7 separate regions of the Homo sapiens genome follow, and regions 2, 3, 4, 5, 6 and 7 are each linked to region 1. The links are contacts of gene promoters, found by promoter capture Hi-C in human tissues and cell types (Jung and others, 2019). All regions are on one chromosome and are shown on one strand. The core of a region is centred on a gene start or on the middle of the fragment in contact, and the rest is flanking DNA. Distances in the headings are between cores, read along the strand shown.

Region 1 (2,743 bases), core at 79-2,578:
GGTGCCGGCTCTGCGGGAACATCGCTCTGGCGGCGGCCGGGGCTCTGTTCCCCGGCAACTCAATTCTCCGGTCAATTTCCAACTTTAATCCCGCCGAGGAAAATTAAGCCGGAAAGCCAAGCAGAAGCGGGGAGCGCGCTGGCCACGCACGCGCGCTCCGCCGGGCGCACCGGCCACTCGGCGCCCGCAGCTGCTCCGGCTCCCGCTCCCGTCGGTGCGGGCTCCGGCCCTCAGGGCCACATTAGTGGGCGCCCCAGGCCCAGCTGCTTCAAGAACCTGCGCGGAGACGTCGGGCGCTCGGGGACTGTGCGCGGGGGCAGCGCTCCAACCCCCGGCCTCAGCTGCCCGGGCGGGGAGGCGGGGGCGCGGTGACTCCGACCGCACTCCCCTCGGCGATCCGCGTGCGCGGCGCCAGTCCTGGGCAAACAAATCCAGACGGACTGCTTTTCTTTGCTCTTCTCCTGGTCCGCCTCCTCTTCGGGCTTTCCCCGAGGCGGCGGCGGGCGAGGTGCAGGTGGCGCGGCGGCCCCCGCTAACCCCACACAAACCCGACGCTTTCGGGGCGACTCCCGCAAGATTCGGCTGCGCCTTCGGCCGGGTGCTCGCAGGCTCCCGGGACGCAAAGGGGAGCGAGGTTGAAGACGCAGCGGAGGCTCCTGGCCGGGGAGCGACGGATGACGAGGCGGGGAAAGTGCGGAGGGCGCGCCGGGAGGCGGCTCGGCACGCCCCGTGCGACCAGCACTCGGTGTTCTCCGCGGTTGCACAAACCCTCCGGGCCCGACGGGGCTACTCCACCGAGAGCAGTCCCGCAAGTGCCCAATGCTCCTCGAGCCCGGGGAGCATCAGGGCGCCGCGCCTCGGGCGCACTCGCCCTGCACGGCCGGACCGGCCGCTCCGGACCCTTCTTCCGAGCTCCTTCTTCCTCGGTCTTCTTTCTTTCCTTCCTTCACCTTCGTGTGCTTCTCCGCAAAGGGCGCTCCAGCCCACTGCAAAGTTCTCTCACCACCCGAGGGACGACATCCACGAGATGGTGGGGAAAACAGCAGGAGTGCGCTCCGCCAATCGGCCACCCTCCCCGGCGGGCAAACTCTGCGGGCGAGTCCAGAGTAGTCACAGCGGTGGGGCCAGCGGGGGTTTTGGTCGCCGCGGGACGACGGAGGTCCGGGCTGGTGGCGCGGGTCCCGCCCGGCCGTGCGAGGGTGGGGTGGCGCAGTCGGCTGCCTCCGGGACGCGGGGCACAGAGTACCCGCCGCTGTTTCTGCTGCTGCTGCTTCTGCAGCCGCCGCTCCCACCGCCGCCGCCGCCCGCGCCTCTCGCGCCGCTTACATTAACACGCGGTTTCACACTCCGGAGCTAACCAGCGCCGGCCCCGCCCAGCCCCGTTCGGGCGGGGGGCGCGAGCGCGGAGCCGGCGGGGGACGTGAGCCCGGGAGGTTGGGGGGTGGGGGGGGGGCAGAAGGCCCGCATCAGCCAATCGCGTGCGCTGCAACCAACGTGGGGCGCTGACGCGCTCCTCCCCGGAGCGTATGGCAGCGCAGCGCCGGACGGGGCGTTCTCCCTCCCCCCCTCCTCTCGCTTCCATCTCCGCCGTCTCCTCGGTCTCCCTTCCCATCCCGGCCCCTCCTCCGCCAGCCGCGTCCTCCCGGGCTTGGTGAGGAACTGTTCCTGGAGGAGCCGCGGGACGCCAAAACCAGCCAATGGGAAGCGGCGATTCGCGGAGATTGGCACTGATGATGGGAAGGTCGGTGGGAAGGAGAGCGGCGGGGCTGGGCTGTCAATCAAAGTAACGTGGGGCTGGCTAGAGAGCGCGCGGGCGCGCGCTAGCGGGAGGGACTGGCGAGCGTGCAGCCGGGGAAGCTGAGGGCTCGAGTTAGCAAAAATCCTGCCACTTGCTCACTTTTCCCTTTAATGAAAATCCTCAGATCTAAGTGAAAGTAACTCAAAGACTAGCTGCGGAGTTTCTTATTGGAGGCGGAGGGGGGCTTTTGGTAATTCGAGCAAATGTGTTTTTCAGTGCTGGACCCCTTGTTTGATGCTACTCTAAAAGTGAGGCCACATTCAAAAATTTATCTGAGGTTTGTTTTTCCTTGAGCTGCCTTTTTACGGATGTACGAGAGGGAGTGGACTGTGCACTTAGTTGGAAATGCGTAAATGAGCAACGCCACGGTTGGCGTAGGTACACCAGCAAAGACGACTGTGATGTCCTCCCACCCCACCCACCCCCTTTGCACCCAAAGTGGTAGGATTTGATTTTTATTGCAGGATTTCAAGCCACTTTTCAAAAAGATCGTCCTGTCCCGTTTGGCGGGAAGGATTCCCAGGGTGCTGCCAGAACAAGGCACGCGTGTCCGCAGATGAGACGTTTTGCCCGGGGCGCGAAATCCCAGGTCTTCGTCTTAAAAGTCCTGACTTCGCTGTGTTGGGAGAGGTGGGGAGCGGCTGAGGTTTTTAGGAACTTCTCAGCTACAAGACTACGAGTCTGTTTCCAATTCCTGGGAACAAAGAGAGACAATGTAATAAACCAGCACTGAGACCTGAAAAACCTGTCCCGCACACCCCACCCCCACAGTCTGGGTGGTACTCCTGAGCTGAGCTGTGTGAAGAGCTAAATGGGAAGAGTTAGGTAAATGACGTGGCTAAGGTTCTTATGAAGTGGAACTTGAGTTAAAAGGGATTTTGAGATTGTAATAATCAAGACATGCTGTATAATTAATGCTGAGAGTCTTTGGTTTTTGTGTATGTC
Region 2 (2,985 bases), core at 173-2,672, 690 kb after region 1:
GAACAGAATAGAGAACTCAGAAATAAGACCACACATCTGCAACCATCTGATCTTAAACAAACCTGACAAAAACAAGCAATGGGGAAAGGATTTCCTATTTAATAAATAGTGCTGGGGGAACTGGCTAGCCATATGCAGATAACTGAAACTAGAACCCTTCCTTATACCTTATACAAAAATTAATTTAACATGGATTAAAGACTTAAATGTAAAACCCAAAACTATAAAAATCTTAGAAGAAAATCTAGGCAATACCATTCAGGACATAGACACAGGCAAATATTTCATGACAAAAACGTCAAAAGCAATTGCAACAAAAGCAAACATTGACAAATGGGATCTAATTAAACTAAAGAGCTTCTGCACGGCAAAAGAAACTATCATGAGAGTGTGAAGAGACAACCTACAAAATGGGAGAAAATTTTTGCAATCTATGTGATCTGAACAATGAGAACATATGGACACAGGGAGGAGAACAACACACACTGGGGTCTTTCAGCAAGGTATGTGAGGGAGAAAATCAGGAAAAATAGCTAATTCATGCTGGGCTTAATACCTAGGTGATGGGTTGATAGGTGTAGCAAACCACCATGGCACACATGTACCTGTGTAACAAACCTGCACATTCTGTACATGTATCTTGGAACTAAAAATAAAATTCTGCTAAGGATTCTGGATTTTTTGCTAGTGCAGTAGAGACAACCAAAGGGTTTAAACCTAGTAAGTAGGGTGATCTTATTTGAATTTTTGAAAGACTACTCCCAGCAGCACTGCAAACGATGAAATAGAAAAAGCAAGACTTGAGGCAACGACACCAAATCATGGAATCTCTGTATATAGTGGTCCAAATCCTAATAATGAGGGTTTGAACCAAGGTGAGAACACCATGTGCATAGCATCATATTTAGTCTTTCCCTGCCAAGCCGTATCTGCTAGGGAAGGAAGTGTTAATACATAAAGCGATTAAAATCTTTCAGCAACACTTTAAAGGAAATACCTTATTATTAGATATTAAAAAATATTAATGAAAATGTGTCCAGGAAGGGAAACGTAGTTTGTGTATTATCATATTTCTAGTACTTGATTGGAAACCGTAAAATGTGATTTCTAATCTTAGCTTTGCCACATAAAGTCATGAGTTTAAGCACATTCTTTAATCTTTCTGAGCCTCACTTTCCATTTTGGTGAAAATTGGGCATTCTGACTTCTTTCCAAGTTTGTTGGAAAGAATACTTTTCCTTTCAGAACTGTAGGGGAAATTAATTGTTGTGAGAACATTTTCAAACTATATGATTCAAAGGTAAGTTATTACTTAATATATGGAGAAAGCATTGGAGACCATCAGTTATTCTTGGTTTTCTCCAATTGATAGTGGAGAGATCAGAGGCTGTTAATATGTTGGCAGAAATTCATATATCTTGAATTTTTAGCCAGCTCACAAAACAAGACCCATGGAAAACGAAGCACAGAGAAACCCATGGGATTAATTATCCTTGTAAATTGGATAATCAAACTGCAGTCAGTTTGATTCTGCTCCTCTGGTAGCATCACAGACATATACACACAACTACAACATACACAAACAGCTGTAGGGGCAGAGGGAAAGCTCTCTCTTAACTTACTGAAGGTTCACTGAAATGACTGACAATAGACAGATTTATAGGAGAAAAGGGCATACAAATATATTAACGTGCTCGTGGACACAGGAGTCCTGCAAATATGAGACTCAAAGTGGAGATTGTTGAAGCTTAAATACTCTCTTTACGGGGAAGAGGAAACTGGGGGCATGTAGGCAATTTATAGGGGAGTACTTAATGATTTTCACGGGAAATAAGGCCAAAGAATGGCCTGAAACAAAGTTCCTTGAGTTCTGGAGGAGGTAGTATGAAGGTGAGGGGCAGAACTTTATTGTAAATGAAAGTTGTTTTATTATGCATATAAAGTCTCTAAGGTAATCTTTCAAAGTTGCTCTCAGAAGAATAGGTGAAAAGGCTATCTCTGTGGCCGGGCGTGGTGTCTCACGCCTGTAATCCCAGCACTTTAGGAGGCCAAGGCGGGCGAATCACGAGGTCATGAGATCAAGACCATCCTGGCTAACACGGTGAAACTCCGTCTCTGCTAAAAATACAAAATATTAGCCAGGCGTGGTGGTCAGTGCCTGTAGTCCCAGCTACTCGGGAGGCTGAGGCAGGAGAATGGCTTGAACCCGGGAGGCGGAGCTTGCAGTGAGCAGAGCTTGCGCCACTGCACTCCAGTCTGGGCGACAGTGTGAGACTCCATCTCAAAAAAAAAAAAAAAAAGTCTATCTGTGCATGATCATGGACTTTTAGTCTCCTGTCTTTTTCAGTGGTTAGTCTTTTCTAGTTCTTTTATGAGATTCCTAAGGAGGGGGTCTTAGGACAATTGCATTTCTTTTGAAAAGAAGTTTCCTTCGTCAGATAAGGACATTCCAGAGGCAGTCCCATGCTGTGTTTGGAGACAGGGGAAGAAACAAGATTAGAAAGTCTTTGGTTCTGAGGCGTCTTCTAAGGCCTTCCTATTTTAGTTCAAAATGCTCAGCATGTCAAAGTGCCATACTTTGGGGGTATTGTCTTTTGAGCCCCAACTAGCACAAAATACAAGCAACACTCATACAGAACACACAAAATACACACAACAAACATATGTGACACACAAATATACCCAATATATATACTGTGTGATCATACCACACATGCAAAATGTGTGGTTACTACATAGATGACGCACAACACACACAAATAATACTTTATACACCACACATAAAATACATGTAATGCACACAAAAACCACAGACACAATGATGAGTTTTCCAAATATTAGTCATCCATCTACCACTTTCACATTATTTGCTTTATTTGCATATCATGTAAACATTCATTTACCAAATTTATCTTGCTTGTACAGGTTGTACTTCGAAATATTTTTATGAATCTTTTCTTTTGCTTTCTTTTTACGTCATCATGG
Region 3 (2,919 bases), core at 215-2,714, 750 kb after region 1:
TACTGGAAAATGTGGAAGCAGCTTTGGAATTGGGTAAAAGGTAGAAGTTGGAAGAGTTTGGAGGGCTCTGAAGAAGACAGAAAGATGAGATTAAGTTTGGAACTTCTTACAGACTGGTTAAATTGTTGACACCAAAATTCCGCTAGTGATATGGACAGTGAAGTCCAGGCTGATGAGAACTCAGATGGAAATGAGGAAGTTATTGGGAACTGGAGCAAAGATCAGCATGTTATGTTTTAGCAGAGAGGTTAGCTGCATTGTGTCCATACACTAGGGATCTGTGGAAGTTTGAACTTCAGAGTGATGATTTAGGCTATCTATCAGAGAAATTTCTAAACAGCAAAGCATTCAAGATGTGGCCTGGCTGCTTCTAACACCCATGCTCAGATACAGGAGCAAATAAATGACTTAAAGTTGGAATTTATATTTAAAAGGGAAGCAGAGTGTAAAAGTTTGCAGCCTGGCCATGTGGCAGAGAAAGAGAAAACCTTTCTGGGAGAGTAATTTAAGCAGTCCATGGAGCAACCACCGGCTAGAGATATTTGCATAACTAAAAGGGAGCCAAGTGCTAATAACCAAGACAATGGGAAAAAGCCTGGAAGGCATTTCAGAGACCTTCCTGGCAGACCCTCCCATTGCAGGCACAGAGGTCTAGGAGGGAAAAATGATTTCATGGGCTAGGCCCAGAGCCCAGCTTCCCTGCACAGCCTCAGGACACTGCTCCCCATATCCCTGCTGCTCCAGCTCCAGCTGTGGCTCAAAGGGCCCCAGGTATAACACGAATGACTGCTTCAGCAACAAAGGGTAAAAGCTGTAAGCATTGGCATCTTTAATGTGATGTTAAGCCTGTAGGTGCACAGAGTGCAAGAGTGAAAAAGGCTCAGCAACCTCTGCCTAGATTTCAGAGGGTGTATGAGAAGGCTGGAGTGCCCAGGCAGAAGCCTGCTGCAGGGCTGGAGCCCTCACAGAGAACCTCTACTAGAGCAGTGTGGAGGGAAAATGTCGGGTTAGACCCCCACACAGTGTCCCAGCTGGTGCACTGCCTAGTGGAGCTGTGAGAAGGGGGCCACTGTCCTCCAGACCCCAGAATAGTAGATCCACTAACAACTTGCACCGTATGCCTGGAAAAGCTGTAGGAACTCAATGCCAGCCCAGGAGAACAACCATGGGGGCTGAACCCTGCAGAGCTGCAGGGGCAGAGCTGCCCAAAGCTTTGAGCACCCACACCTCATATTAGTGTGCTCTGGATGCAGGACATAGAGTCAAAGGAGACTCTTTTGGAGATTTAAGATTTAATGGCTGCCTTGCTGGGTTTTGAACTCACATGGGGCCTGTAGCCCCTTTGTTTCAGCTGATTTAACTCTTTTGGAATGGGAATTACCCAATGCCTACACCCCCATTGTATCTTAGAAGTAAATAACTTGTTTTTTATTTTATAGGTTCATAGATGGAAGGGACTTGCCTTGTCTCAGATAAGACTTTAGACTTTGGGCTTCTGAGTTAATGCTGAAATGAGTTAAAACTTTGGGGACTACTGGGAAGGCATGATAGTATTTTGCAATGTGAGAAGTCCATGAGATTTGTGGGAGGAAGGTGGGAATGATATAGTTTAGAGATTTGCCCCCACCCAAAACTCATATTGAAATGTAATCCCCAATGTTGGAGCTGGGGCCTGGTGGGAGGTGTTTGAATCATGGGGCAGGTTCCTCATGAATGGCCTGGGCCATCTCCTTGGTAATAAGTGAGCTTTCACTCTGAATTCACAGGAGATGTTGTTTAAAAGTGTGTGGCAACAACCCCCCAACTCTTTCTCTCTGTTGTTCCTGTTTTTTCCATTTGACATGCCAGTTCCTGCTTCACCATCTGCCGTGAGTAAAAGCTCCCTGAGGTCTTTCCAGAAGCCAAGCGATGTTGTTGCCATGCTTGTATAGTGCACAGAACCAAAAGCCAATTAAACCTATTTATTTACAACTTATCCAGTCTGAGGCATTTCTTTATAGCAATGCAAGAACACCCTAATATAGCTTCCGTTAAATTTAGCCAATGGGAGATGCTGGCATGAGATCTAGGGTGGGAAGAGAATGAAGTTGCAGTAGTTATCCTCCTTGCCACCTTCTTGCTAAATCATCTTAGATGGGTTGCTTTACTCACAGAGCCACCGTCCTTAGGTTCTTGTAAATGTTCACTGCTTTGCCCCTTAGGACTCAATAATGGCTCCCCATAATTTCTGCTGTTAGAGTATTGAACTGTCTTCTCTTGGCTAGGGAAAACATAAACCCTGCCCTCAGTTTTGCAAATGGTCTCTTTATTAAATTCAATACAAACTACCTAATTTTAATTTGCCATCTTTTCCTAGCTAGTCCTGAACTCATACAAAAGTAAATCAGATGGGTATCTAGTCTTCAAGGTGAAGATAAGCCATGTTTCAACATAAGTATGACAAGATAGAATTTAAGTAAGAGGCAGTGTAATACACCAGTGAGAACAGTCAACTTGAAATTAGGTTGTATAGATTATAATCACTGCTCTGCTTCTAGTTGTGATTACCTGGGTATATAAAGAAACTAGATGTGCTCAAAATTCTCTCCAATGTTGAGATTTTATACTGACTGCTCTCTTTGAGTTCTTTAAGAAAGTAGCAATTAAATGCTAGAAGGGAGTGGCAGCTAAAGTACCATGGAAACCTGGGGAAAACATAGATTAACTCGTGACAAAATTACTAAGAGCAATGACATTTCTGAGGAAGAAGAGATTGCTGGAATAAGGGAAAGCTTCAGGGAACAGATGATGCATGGGAAATCTTTATTTCATATGTTGGGTTAGAAAATCATTAAGTGAGTAAATAAGTGTTGGTAAATCTTCCTGAGTTAAAGCAAAGTCTGTGGAGTTCCTGACATTCCTTGTAGAGCCATCCAGCTA
Region 4 (3,219 bases), core at 99-2,598, 650 kb after region 1:
CAGTTTAATGGACTTTGAGACTTGGAAACATGAGCTCTAAAATTCCCTTCATATATCAAATATTCTACATATCTTTTCCCCCCTCTAACTAGAAATAAGCAATATGGTAGTAAAAAGGAATCCATAGAGCAAACTTTGTTATTTGTCCAGGCATCAAACGGTTATAATTGGCAAAAACAGTTGACATTTCACCACAACATGGGTTGAATTTTGTTTAAAAACAAGTAATAATTAAAATGTAATTAAGAATAAAAAATTAGATTTATGGTTTTAAAAAAGAATATGTAATAGTAATGTGTATTGCCCCTGCCTTTGAAGTCATGCCTGATTTTAAGAGATATCACGAGTGAAAACATTGAAGTGTGCTGAAGAAAGCAGTAACTTATTCTGAAGGGTCTCAGTAAATGCAGGAAATCTTGGGAAATTGCAGGAAAAAAATGATTCTATCACAAATTTTAACATCAGTTCACTGGATGCTTTCTTCCACATGCAGCTGAATCTTGATTTATTTTGTTAATGAGCACTGTGCTTTACTATAAATTTTCTTCTTACTGTGTGCATTACTAATACTTGCAGATTATTTTTCTGGTAAGGTATGATTTATTTTGAAGATTTTAATTTTTGGCGAAGGGAGTCAGATTAACATTAGGAAGTAGATTGAAATTTTGTTTTGTTTTATTGTTTAGAGTTTTTGAACTTTTTTGTTTTTGAACCAGAAAGAATATTGAACACAGAAAGTCATGGATTCTGTGTCAGTTTAATAAAATAGTAAAACTTTTTAAGATTGGCTCAGTGTGAAACAGCCTTGTTGCTTGGGGTAGCACCTGAAATTCTTGGTCTCATGGCCGAAGAAATCAAGAACGCAGACACACCAAATGTCAGGTTAGAGCAGAAGCAGAAGTTTAATAGGCAAAAAAAAAAAAAAAAAAAAAAAAAAAAAAAGAGAACAGCTATCTGCAGCAGAGAAGGGTCCCAAAAAGGGTTGCCATTCAGCAGTGAAATGCAAGTGTTTATAAGCTAGTGGGGAAGCAGCATCTTATCTACATAGGGTGTGAAAAACTGGTTAGGACCAGGTGTGCCATCTGAATAGAGGGTGAATCTCTGGCAGCCCCCACATCAATCTTTTATTACATAGGCAGGTCCTTTGCCTGAGCTACTCCATGTTGCTTTCCTACTGTGTATGTGTTAAAAAGCAGGAGGTGGAGCCCCCATGGTGACATGCCTGGCCCCCAGCTACCCCTTTCTATCGGTGCAGCTGCAGGCATTCCCCGCTTGCAAACTTCCAGCTTCCTTATCTATGTTTGCAGCCTGATCTTCCAGGCTGCTCTTTATTAGAAAAGAAGTGATTTCTTGGGCTGCTTTTTGCCAGAAGGGAAGTTCTGCCGAGGACTTTTTTCCCGAACTATTTGCCTAGCTAGTTTTTTTCTACCTCCTCTCTCAAATGCATATTCGTACCTCCAAAAGCATATTTTATTTTCTGAAGAGATAGCCTATTTCTTCACTTAGGATAAGAAATTAAAGTTTTAATCTCACAATTATCTAATATTCTTTACCACTAACCTCAAACAAAGGTAATGAATTACTTCTAGCAGTTTCCTCACCGAGCACCAAAGTTATTCTTAAAAACTAGATATGGTTTGGTTCTGTGTCCCCACCCAAATCTCACCTATAATTGTAATTCCCATAATCCCCATGCGTCAAGGGCGGGACCAAGTGGAGGTAATCAGATCATGTGGGCAGTTTCCCCCACGCTGTTCTTGTGATAATGAGTCTCATGAGATCTGATGGTTTTATAAGCGCCTGAGATTTCCCCTGCTTGTACCCACTCTGTGCTGCCACCCTGTGAAGAAGGTGCCTGCTTCTCCTTTGCCTTCTGCCATGATTGTAAGTTTCCTGAGGCCTTCCCAGCAATTCGGAACTGTGAGTCATTATATCTCTTCCCTTTATAAATTACCCAGTCTCAGGTAATTCTTCATAGCAGTGTGAGAATAGACTAATACACCACACTTCTGTTATCATGGCTTCAGGCTTGACCTGAACCCCTTCTTTTATCCTGCCAATCCACAGTGGCATGCATGCTTTCTTTACCTTTGGTATGTCTTCAGTTTCTATTCTCTTGTCTTCTTTTAAGACCCTATGGGCTACCCCTTTCTTCCCTATCTACCTTTGCCAGGCATGTAAAACTTCCTTTTTCCCTTTTTCATGCCCTGTGCCCATGGTCAGCAAAACTACCCCCATACTTAGCCTTGACTGCTGACTCCATTTTGGGCAGAATCTTCTCACTTAGGCCCTCCTCCATCCCAGGAGAAGAACTAGGTCACAAATACGGTTGTTTCCCAGCTGGTATTTCTGAAAATGTAAATGAAAGACAGTTTAAGGGGAAGAGCCTGGAGGAAAATGAGGCTAATTTGCTTTACCATTTTTTTTAACTGTCCAAATGTAACCACTACCGGAGGCCTTTAATTTAAATTCTGGAGCTCTAGGATCTGTGAGACTCCCCATCACATTCTCTCAGCTTCTGCTTGGGATTCTTGTCCTTAGCATTAGAGACTTTTTTTCTGCCTAGGTAATTTCAAAATGCAAATTACAATAGAAACAACAACAGTAAAATCATATAACATCTATTGAAAACTATGGTCTAATCACTTTTATATACATTTTCTCATTTAACACAACAACTTAATGACCGGGGCCTTATCAAAGTCCTCATTTGAAAGAAGAGGAAACTGAGGCTTAGATGTGTAAATAAATCAGCAAGCATGTGTTTAACCTTGGAATTGCATCTAATTCTACTTGATTCCAAAGCCCAGCTCTTAATTACTAGGAATATTGACTCCTTCTTTGCTCCATGATTTAACATTTCAAAGTGATTTCTGAGATGTACTGTTTGACTTCCTATTAATGTCAAATTAGAGGTTTTACATTAAAAAACTTTTATTTTTGGTAGAGTGTGACCAAGAATGAATGGCTCAATATATGCAATAATAATATTTTATATTTTGTGCAGTGTTTTACTATATAGGGCATATTTTCAGTATTTGTCCCTCACATGAATCCTGTAAGGATGCCTGCTCTAAAGATGAAAAGTTTGATTTTTGAGAAATCAAAGAATGTGCCTAAGGTCATATGTGAATGGCAAAATTGAAACATGGAGCACAGTGTTTTGACAACAACCATGCCTTTCTTCCTAATGCAGCATGGTATGTTACTGCTTACCAG
Region 5 (3,157 bases), core at 492-2,991, 780 kb after region 1:
CCCATATTCAGTTCATAATGTCATCAAGGGATTTCCAAGGAAAGAGAGTTCTGAATGTATGCCTTATTTGTCCTATCAGTAGAATTTTTTTTCTCCTTTTAAGCAAAATCTGAGTGTGTGTGTGTGTGTGTGTGTGTGTTTTAACTTTCATGATGGAAAGTTTCAGACATAAAGGTATGGAGTATGGTATCGTCCAACTTGAATAATTACTGACTAATGTCCAATTATGTTTCACCCATATTCTATCCATTCTCCCCACCCCCTGATTATTTTGAAGCAAATCTCTGTTATCATTTATAATACTGTAAGTATTTCAGCATATATCTCCAAGGAATTCTTTTTCAAAATATGACCATTACACAACTTAGAAATTGACAATAATGTCTAAATATCATTAAATATCCAGTCACCTGTTCAAGTTTCCATGATTGTCTCATAAATGCTTATTTTTAAAATGTGTTGTATTTGCTCACATCGGGATTGAAATAATTTTCCCAATTATAATTGGTTGATATATCTCTTAAGTAGAAATTGTAGTGGTGTGAAGAAGCACTGCCCAGATTCCCATTTATTGAATGACTTGTTGTCCAGCTACTGGGAGTTCAGCAGTCAGCTTCTAGCTCTCGGCCCCTTCTGAATTGCCCCAGCTGCAGAAAGCTACATCACTCAAGGGTAAACCCTTCCTGAGACAGCCCAAATCTAATAAATAATTGCAGCAAGGATATGAAGTCCCAACCATTTAATCCACTCTGGGACACATTCATGTCATGTACACTTGAGAGCTTCCCGTGGGTTTGGCCAAGGCTTTGTGGGCCTACACCACAGTTTGACTTCTCTCTTTGACCAATCCTGCTTTATCCTCCTCATTTCCACAGATATAGATCCCTAATCAACATCTAGCATGCTATGTTCCATTTCATCATTTGCTTCCAGAGAAGCTAACTTGTGATAGATGTATTTCCAGAGATATTTTATTGTCATGTTTTATTCTAGTGAAACAAACTATAATGGATCTGCCTATTACAAACTTACAGTCAGTTTCAAATATAATTCCTTCAGACTTACAATAAAGTGCAATGTATTTGATAAATGGCAGAAACTCTCTGACTCAGATAGAGCATTTTAGGGCTACTTTCTTTGGATAATTTGAATAGGAATTAAAAAAGAAAACCTTTCCTATTTCCTGCTGCAATGCCTGAATATATCAACTTGATATCTTCAGTAACAATGCCCATGGCAAAGAGAGCATGTCATCACTCAACTCTTCGTTTCTTAAGAAGAGAGAAAAGGGTCTTTTTTGGTAGGTTTGATACTTTATTTGCACTGGATTGGATTTGACTCTAAAAACATATTATTATGACTGAGGACTGAGTAGTGGTAGGGTGATTATTTCAAAATACAGTAGAAGAAATGGAACATAAGAAAACAATAGAATTACAAACACACTAGAGCATTGCCGATGCTTCAAACTGCATCTAAAATTAGGAGGATGAGATTAAGCAGATGAGAAATAACTCATTGTTAAAAATAAGAAAAAGACATTTTGCTAAGAAAGTGTGGTTGGAAAGTGTTTATTGTTTTTCTTTAGTGCTGCAGGCTAGTTTGAATTTTCGTAACATGTATTAGTTTTTTTAAACATTAAAGTGTAAGGGAGAAATGACCTTTAATTTCACCATCCAGATAGTTCTTCTAGCAAAAAAAGAAAAAGTATGAATAAAAATCAATTATTCAAGAGATGAAGAAGGACATTATATATTAATGAAAGTTTCAATACAGTAAGAAAGTATAATAATTATAAACATTTAAACACCTAATGACAGAACATCAAACATATGAAGCAAATACTGATGACATTCAAGGGGAAAATATACAGTTCTACAATAATATTTGGAGACTTCAACACCCCACTCTCAAAAATGGATAGACCAACTATACATAAAATGATTAAGGAAACAGAAGATTTAAATAATACACATTCTTCTCAAGTGCACGTGGGACATTTTTTCAATTTAGGCCAAGTGTTAGGCTGCAAATTCGGTCTCAATAGATTTAAACAGATATCATACAAAGTATCTTCTCAGACCACAACAGATTGAAGTTAAAAATCAGTAACAGAAATAAAACTGAAAAATTCACAACTTCATAGAAATTAAATAACACACTCTGAATTAATAGATCAAAGAAGAAATAAAAAAGGAATTAGAAAATACTTAACAACAGATTAAAACAAAACCATCACATAGCCCAATTTATGGGACACAGCAAAATCAGTGCTAAGAAAGAAATGTATTGCTATAAGATCTTACATTAAAAAATAAAAACAGTTTAAAATTAACAACCTAACTTTACAACTTAAGGGACTATGAAAAGAAGAACAAAGTAACTCAAAGCAGAAAGGAGGAAATAAAGAATAGCACAGAGATCAATGAAATAGAGAATAGGAAAACAATAGAGAAAAATCAATGAAACCAAAAGTTGGTCTTAGAAAATATGAACAAAAGTGAAAACCTTTAGCTAGAACTAAGAAAAAGGAGAGAAGATTCAAATAACTAAAATCAGAAATAAAAAATGGGGACATTACTAACATTTCTACAGAAATAAAAGAATTATAAGAGAGTACAATGAACAACTGTATGCCAACATATTGGATAACCTGGATGAAATGGACAAATTTGTGGAAACACAAAACCTACCAAGGCTAAATCATTAAGAAATAGACAATCTGAATAGACCTGTTATTTGTAAAAAAGATTGAATCAGTATTCAAAAATCTACCAACAAAGAAAACCCTCAAACCTAATGGCTTCACTGGAGAATTCTACTGAACATTTAAAGAAAAACCAATGCCACACCTTCTCAAATTTGTCCAAAAAAATTGAAGAGGAGGGAGAACTTTCTGACTTATTTTATGAGGCCAGCATTATGCTGATATCAAATCCAGACAAAGACATCACAAGAAAAGAAAACTAGAAAACTATAGACCAATATCCTTTGTGAACATTGATGCCAAAATGTTTAATGAAATATTAACAAGCTGACTTCAGTAGCATATTAACAGGATTATACACCACAACTAAGTGGAATTTATTCCTGGAATACAAGGATAGTTCAGCATACAAAAATTGACCAATATAATGCACCACATTAACAGAATGAA
Region 6 (2,884 bases), core at 127-2,626, 810 kb after region 1:
AAAAAAGATGCAAAATTTTAAAATAAAAAATTAGTAAATTCTACCCAGGATTACAAAAAAAGAGCAATATATTGTGTCTAGGTAGGCTTTATTCCAGTTATACAAAATTGGCGTAATAATAGAAGAAGAAATAAATGTTATTTGTTATACTAAAAAAGGGTGGAAAAGTCTAATGTGACCATCACAACAGATTTTTAAAAAGCAGTTACTTAGGATAACAATCCTTCAGAATAAAATACCTGGTATTCTTAATGTGCCAGAGTACCTACCAGAAATTGATACCAAAATAATATTTAATGGCAATAATATTAAAATAAATAACTAAAAGCTTTCTTTCTGTAACTGAGAATGACATAAGAATGTCTTGCTTTTAACTCTTCTATTTAATATTATACTGAATGTTCTATCCACTGCAATAAGATAAGAAAAATGAACAAAAAGAAACAAGCATCAGTAATGTAGAAGAAAACTACAGTTGCCATTATTTGTAGATAAAATTAATGTGCCCATAGAAAATTACCAAAAGAATCAAACCTAATGAAAAAAACAAGAGTACTCCAACATGCAACCTGAATGAATATCACATAATGTTGAATGATAGAGCAGAGATAAATGTGTACATAATATTTGATTCTACTTATGTGAAGTTCTGAAACAGGCAAAACATATATATATATATATACACACACACATATATAGAAATCAAAAGAGTGGTTACATTTGGTGAGGAAGTAATTATTGGAAGGGTACGTGAGAAAGGGTGTGGTGAGGAAGTAATTATTGGAAGGGTACGTGAGAAAGGGTGTTTGATCTGGAAAGTGGTCAATAGGTATGCACATAAGTAAAACTTATTGAACTGTACATAAAAGACTTGCATACTTTATAGTATGTATGCTACACCTCACTACTAAAGTAAACAAAGAAAGAAACCTTATAACCAAAGAGAAAATTTATGAATTCCTATTATGCCTCCTCTGTCTTATCTCAGCTAATTATAGGGCCATTTTATATAAGGCTCTATATATGTTTTATCTTTTATTTATAATCTTATTAATATAAGACATAATTTATTAGTTATATGACTTATATTTTTTGTAAGGGTCCTATAAAATGAAAATGAGTATTTCCAATCCAGATCAAAGATCATGGTGTGGCAAAGGGGAAATACTCAATGTTTTCTTAAGGGAGAGAACAGTGACATCTCTGTGAATGGAGCTATTTACAGAGGAGGATGTCTCTTACACTCTCTTGCAAGATCCTTAATGGTGCACACCCAAGTGTTAGCCTGGAATGTAGTAATAATCTGAGCTAATTTTTATTGGAGATTTACTCTGTGCAAGGTTTTTTTACGTGAATGATCTCAATTACTTGTCATAACAACCTGTGAAGTAGCTAACATTTTGTCCTCATTTTAAAGTCAATAAAACAGAAGCTCATAACATGCCAAGTCACTCAGTTTGTAAGAGGTGGAGTTTAGATGCAAGTCCAAGTCAGTGCAAATCTCAAGACTATGCTCATAACCATTGTATTATACTTCCAAGAAAACAGTTGGGTATATGAGTCAGAAACCTCTATATCTCCATTATAGAATTGAAAACAATCCGTTTATTAAGTTTAAACTCTGGAATTCCTCCTCATTAGGGAATAAGACCCAAAAGGAAGGGATAATATTTTATTCATCTATGGGCACCCATTGTTTAGCACAGGACATGTCACATAACAGATATTAGGCTTAATAAACATTTGTTCAGTGAGGTAGCTCGAATATCCATGGTTGTGGTGTTACTGTAGAATCCATCCATTCCTGCACACTTGTTTGTAACTGAAATATAAATTATCTCCCTTAGCAAGCTTCACAAGGTAATAAGCATATTCATCAAATAATTCCAATCCAAACTGTGGGACTCACTGGTATTTACTGCATCTGAAATTCACAATTGGTGCACAGAAAGCAAAAAGAAGCATCCTAGTGATTGCTTGAGAATTCAATTTACATATTTTTATACACTCAATGGAGTAAAAGCAAACTTTAGGGCTTCTGAACAAAATTATTCCATTTTGTTACCACATTTTCCATTTTCTCAATAAAGTGATAGCTACTTATTGATAGTTTTTGTGTTTTCCAGACACTCTCTTTGTGTTCTGGAGATAAGCTGTCAATATAACCCCAAAGAATCTTTTGGAAGGGCAAGAATTCCCAAGGATACTACCTAGAGCTCCGCCAGCAGACACATGCCTTAAAAATTTTTCTTTTCTACCAACTCTTTGTCCATGGAGATAAACCAATTTTCCTCTTTTTTTGTAATGCACAGGATCTACAGGGATGCCTGGGTAAGGAATTTAGCATATCATCCTAGGAATACCTTGGTCTTTGGTTTGGCAGTACATCATCACTGGAGGTGGTAACAGTTGTGCAACAGTTTATGGGTGTGGTGTGGGGTCTAGCGGCTGCTTTTATTTTTTCCCTTCTAGAAGTTTATTTCCTTTGAGTCGCTTTTTAATTATGATGGATTTGTTTTATGTTGTATATATTCATTTCAAAGATCTTAGGCAGTCTTTTTTTCAAGATTCATGGAAACAAAGATTCATGATTCTGATGAAAAAGAGTGTTCAACATCTGTCAGGGCCTATGTTCCTACACATTTTTGATGGTACATATTTGGCATTATAAAAAGTTATGTAATATCCATGAGGACATGAATAAATCTCTGAATTATCAATGCTCAATCTCAGTGTCTGCCCCATTCATAAGTAAAGTTAAAATGTTCAGGAAGATCCAGATCACCTTCTGCCCCAATCTGTGATTGATTGATTTATGGTAAGAACACATAACATGAGATCTAACCTCAGCAAATTTTTTAGGGCACAATACGGTATGGTTTAC
Region 7 (3,134 bases), core at 275-2,774, 650 kb before region 1:
CACATTGCTGCTTACCCATAGCACTCTCTTCCCCACTAGGGCAGAAGCAACTTCTAGGTCTTTTTTAAATAAAATACTCCTGGAAGCTTCCTCCAATCATTCTGAGTTGATCCACAAGTGAAAAATCTATTTGCCATCATTTGACTAAACCATAATTTCAGAATTCTTCATGGATCTCCCCTGAGCTGCACACAAACCCCATGTTAAACACAATCATCTTTGACAGCTGATAATAGTTTGTAAATTGTATCTTTCAAGCAATGAAGAACTTTTTCTATAATTCAGGTTTCACCCTATTTTATGCCTCAATTTTTCTCATCTTGATCGTTTACTCTCTAGATTTTAATGTCTTTATGTTAATTCTGCAGTTCAAGAAATAGGCTCAATCAAGTCATGTGGTGGTTTTCAAGAATGTCAAGTTACTAAGAGTCTGGCTTTAATTGTCCGTTAGGAACAAAATAAAAAGGTTGTTGATTCTCAATTATGACGTTTCATTCTAAAATGTGGGAGATGTTCTCTGGGATGAAAGTGAGTCATTTAACATTTATGTTTCTCAACTGATATCCACTGAGGGAAAGCATAAACCAATTAATGAAAAGGATCTGTCTAGAGATAAGAAGCATCAAAAAGAAATCTGGAGAACTTCATTCTGACTCCAAACCACATAAATGAAAGACTTGCAAGCTTTTTCCCTAATGTAGCCAATGCACCGTGTCCAACTCCGTAATTATGCCTTACAGCCAAAAAAGTGAGCTGCCAGGGCTTTAAGCTAAATGCCACTCTAGCTGTATTATTCACTCTGAAGAAGGAACTACCTCTAGGAAGGTGCTTTATAGTGCCTTTAAAAAGGTAGATTCTATACCTTTAATGCTTTCTTTCTTAATTCTTATCCCCAATATTAATACTTCAAATTTAGTAAGACTTATGGAGCTAAATGGATGAAAAATTTTAATTAAAATTATGTCTACAAGCTGACCAATTTATTTATAGTTTTGAACCCCCCATGGACATAATATTGCTGCTAAACCACAAACCACTGGAAAATCAGAGTGAAACCTCATTGACTTGACGACTTACTCTCATGCCATATCAAGTTGACAACTTTCTTGCTGAGGGACCTTGAAGAAGACACTGAACCTCTAAAGCTCAATTTAAAAAAATATTAAAGAAAGTTTGTCTATGTTCCATGGACTCTACTAGACCCTTGATAAAAATATGAATTTTTATCCTCAGTCAGAGAAAAATTGGACTGTCACAGCATTAGCTTGATTTTCTATTTATGTAATATTCCATTAATGAGAGTTAAGGACATGGTTTTAGCTATCAAGAAATTAGTGTTTTAGGAAAAAAAATATATATAAATATATAGAGACCAAAATGGTCTCTATATACACACATATATGTATGTGTATATACATATATATGTGTGTATATACACACATGCATACATATACATATACATATATATGTATACACACACACATATATATGTATGTGTGTATGTGTGTGTATGTGTGTGTATATATATATATAGAGAGAGAGAGAGAGAGACATACCACCCAAAGACAAAGGCAAGCAGGAATTCAGATACAAACAAAAAGGACAAAACTAATTTTTGGAGAAAATGTCATGTGCCAAAGCCTGAATGAGCGGAGATGCTGGTAGCTTAAGAATGAAGAAATGACATGGGAAACTCAAAATGATGTGATGAAAGCTCCTTCATCAAAACAAAGTTCTTGCTCCCAACACAGATGAGATAGGGAAACCACTTGAGAGCAGGGAGCAGAGGAGAAGCACGATCCAATGGTAGAGAAAAGAAACGTTTTTGGTTGAGAATGAATCACTGACTGCAGAAAAATAGTAAGATATGTTGATAGGAAGTAATTTTTATTAATTGCTCAGTGGACAAACTTATTTAAGCACCTTCCATGTTCTAGGTTCTATGACAGTTAGAAGTTTAAAGACCTACTTTAGTGGAGGGAAAAATAGGAAAAATTTGTGGTTGATGGGTGATAGAGATTTGCCCAGGGCACACACCTGAAATCCAGCACCCATTGGGACTGGAAGTAGAAAGAAAAGCTTCTCAGAAGAGGTTCCAGCTATTCTAAGGCTTGAAGAATGCATGGGAGTTACTGAAGCAAAGAAGAGAAAGAACATGGAGTCAAAGATGCTAAAGGCATTTCAGGAGCAACTCAATTAAAAATCAAAAGGAGATCTTAGGTTAGTGGTTCCCAGCCTGTGACATCTTAGGAGCAATCTACAGTGTCACATTTAAACAAAATGTGTATGTTCCCCCATTCACATTGACTCTTATTTGGTAAGAATAAGCCCCTGAAATGATGGATGTTGTAAAGGAGTAGGACAACCACCGGCAGAAAAATTAGAACTATTTGGCCTTAAATCCTTGCTCTACAACTTCTACCTGTGCAGTCTGGGTCAATGACTTGACTTCCTTTAATCTCCATAGAGTCATTGGCAGCAACCTCATAGGTGTACTGTGGTGATAAAATGATGTGATACATGATTAAGTCAGTGTAATGCCCTATTCAAATTCAGTGCATATGAAGTATTGATATTAGAATTATTATTAATGTAAATGAAAGAACATGAAACTTGGAATCTGGAGACATCATATGTGTGACATTATGAAAGTTGCTTAGCCATTCTGAAAATCATATTGCTTAATTATTTAAAAAGAAAAACTTTTCAAACTTTGTAAGATTGTTTTAGGAATTAAATATGGCAACATTAAAAAAAACACTTAGCACAGACAAGGACCCTACTACATTTTACTTAAATCTGGGTCTGAAATACTTATATTGTAGAAACACAAAATTGTATATAAAAATGTGCTTTAATAAATAATAACAGCAAATACTTAAGTGTTTCTCTGTGTTGGGTATCTTAGGCATTTTTACATCTACTTTCTCATTCAGTCCTAAAGATCACCTTTTTATTATCCCTGTTAATCCTGAGAAGTACAGTTACTTACCTAACATCTCACAGTATTTTTTTTTAACCATAAGAACAACTTCTTTAAAAGACTTCTAAATTTCCAAAGGTTTTTTGAGTAATAATAGAAAAGGATCTAAACTCTGGCTCTCAAAAGAACAGCGGAGTCCTCCTATGAAACC

Evidence for each region. The method cuts DNA at HindIII sites, captures the fragments that hold promoters and counts their contacts. A contact is called where the count stands out against the background at its distance.
Region 2: a fragment that was not itself captured here is called in contact with the fragment with the promoter of TLE1 in region 1 in 1 of the 25 tissues and cell types used here (H1 embryonic stem cells).
Region 3: a fragment that was not itself captured here is called in contact with the fragment with the promoter of TLE1 in region 1 in 1 of the 25 tissues and cell types used here (mesenchymal stem cells).
Region 4: a fragment that was not itself captured here is called in contact with the fragment with the promoter of TLE1 in region 1 in 1 of the 25 tissues and cell types used here (lymphoblastoid cells).
Region 5: a contact is called between a fragment that was not itself captured here and the fragment with the promoter of TLE1 in region 1, in 1 of the 25 tissues and cell types used here (mesenchymal stem cells).
Region 6: a fragment that was not itself captured here is called in contact with the fragment with the promoter of TLE1 in region 1 in 1 of the 25 tissues and cell types used here (mesenchymal stem cells).
Region 7: a contact is called between a fragment that was not itself captured here and the fragment with the promoter of TLE1 in region 1, in 1 of the 25 tissues and cell types used here (mesenchymal stem cells).

The regions. Positions count from the first base shown.
Region 1 is chr9:81,688,219-81,690,961 of GRCh38, forward strand. It overlaps TLE1 (TLE family member 1, transcriptional corepressor), which reads right to left and starts at 1,329. Exons shown (of 20, transcript NM_005077.5): 1 at 1-1,329. The coding sequence starts at 22. TLE1-DT (TLE1 divergent transcript) reads left to right here and starts at 1,495. Exons shown (of 4, transcript NR_109772.1): 1 at 1,495-1,741. RefSeq lists an enhancer at 640-1,354 and silencers at 1,227-1,576, 1,727-1,876. The HindIII fragment of the contact is 9,578 bases long and covers 1-2,743 here.
Region 2 is chr9:82,380,669-82,383,653 of GRCh38, forward strand. No RefSeq gene overlaps it. Among named protein-coding and RNA genes, the nearest start is that of SPATA31D1, 390 kb to the left of the region's middle. The HindIII fragment of the contact is 6,771 bases long and covers 1-2,985 here.
Region 3 is chr9:82,439,950-82,442,868 of GRCh38, forward strand. No RefSeq gene overlaps it. Among named protein-coding and RNA genes, the nearest start is that of SPATA31D1, 450 kb to the left of the region's middle. The HindIII fragment of the contact is 4,143 bases long and covers 1-2,919 here.
Region 4 is chr9:82,341,069-82,344,287 of GRCh38, forward strand. The region is part of intron 4 of LOC105376107 (a long non-coding RNA gene); the gene reads left to right. Among named protein-coding and RNA genes, the nearest start is that of SPATA31D1, 350 kb to the left of the region's middle. The HindIII fragment of the contact is 6,616 bases long and covers 1-3,219 here.
Region 5 is chr9:82,468,783-82,471,939 of GRCh38, forward strand. No RefSeq gene overlaps it. Among named protein-coding and RNA genes, the nearest start is that of SPATA31D1, 480 kb to the left of the region's middle. The HindIII fragment of the contact is 4,989 bases long and covers 1-3,157 here.
Region 6 is chr9:82,501,026-82,503,909 of GRCh38, forward strand. The region is part of intron 2 of LOC107987087 (a long non-coding RNA gene); the gene reads left to right. Among named protein-coding and RNA genes, the nearest start is that of SPATA31D1, 510 kb to the left of the region's middle. The HindIII fragment of the contact is 3,913 bases long and covers 1-2,884 here.
Region 7 is chr9:81,034,762-81,037,895 of GRCh38, forward strand. No RefSeq gene overlaps it. Among named protein-coding and RNA genes, the nearest start is that of TLE1, 650 kb to the right of the region's middle. The HindIII fragment of the contact is 5,929 bases long and covers 1-3,134 here.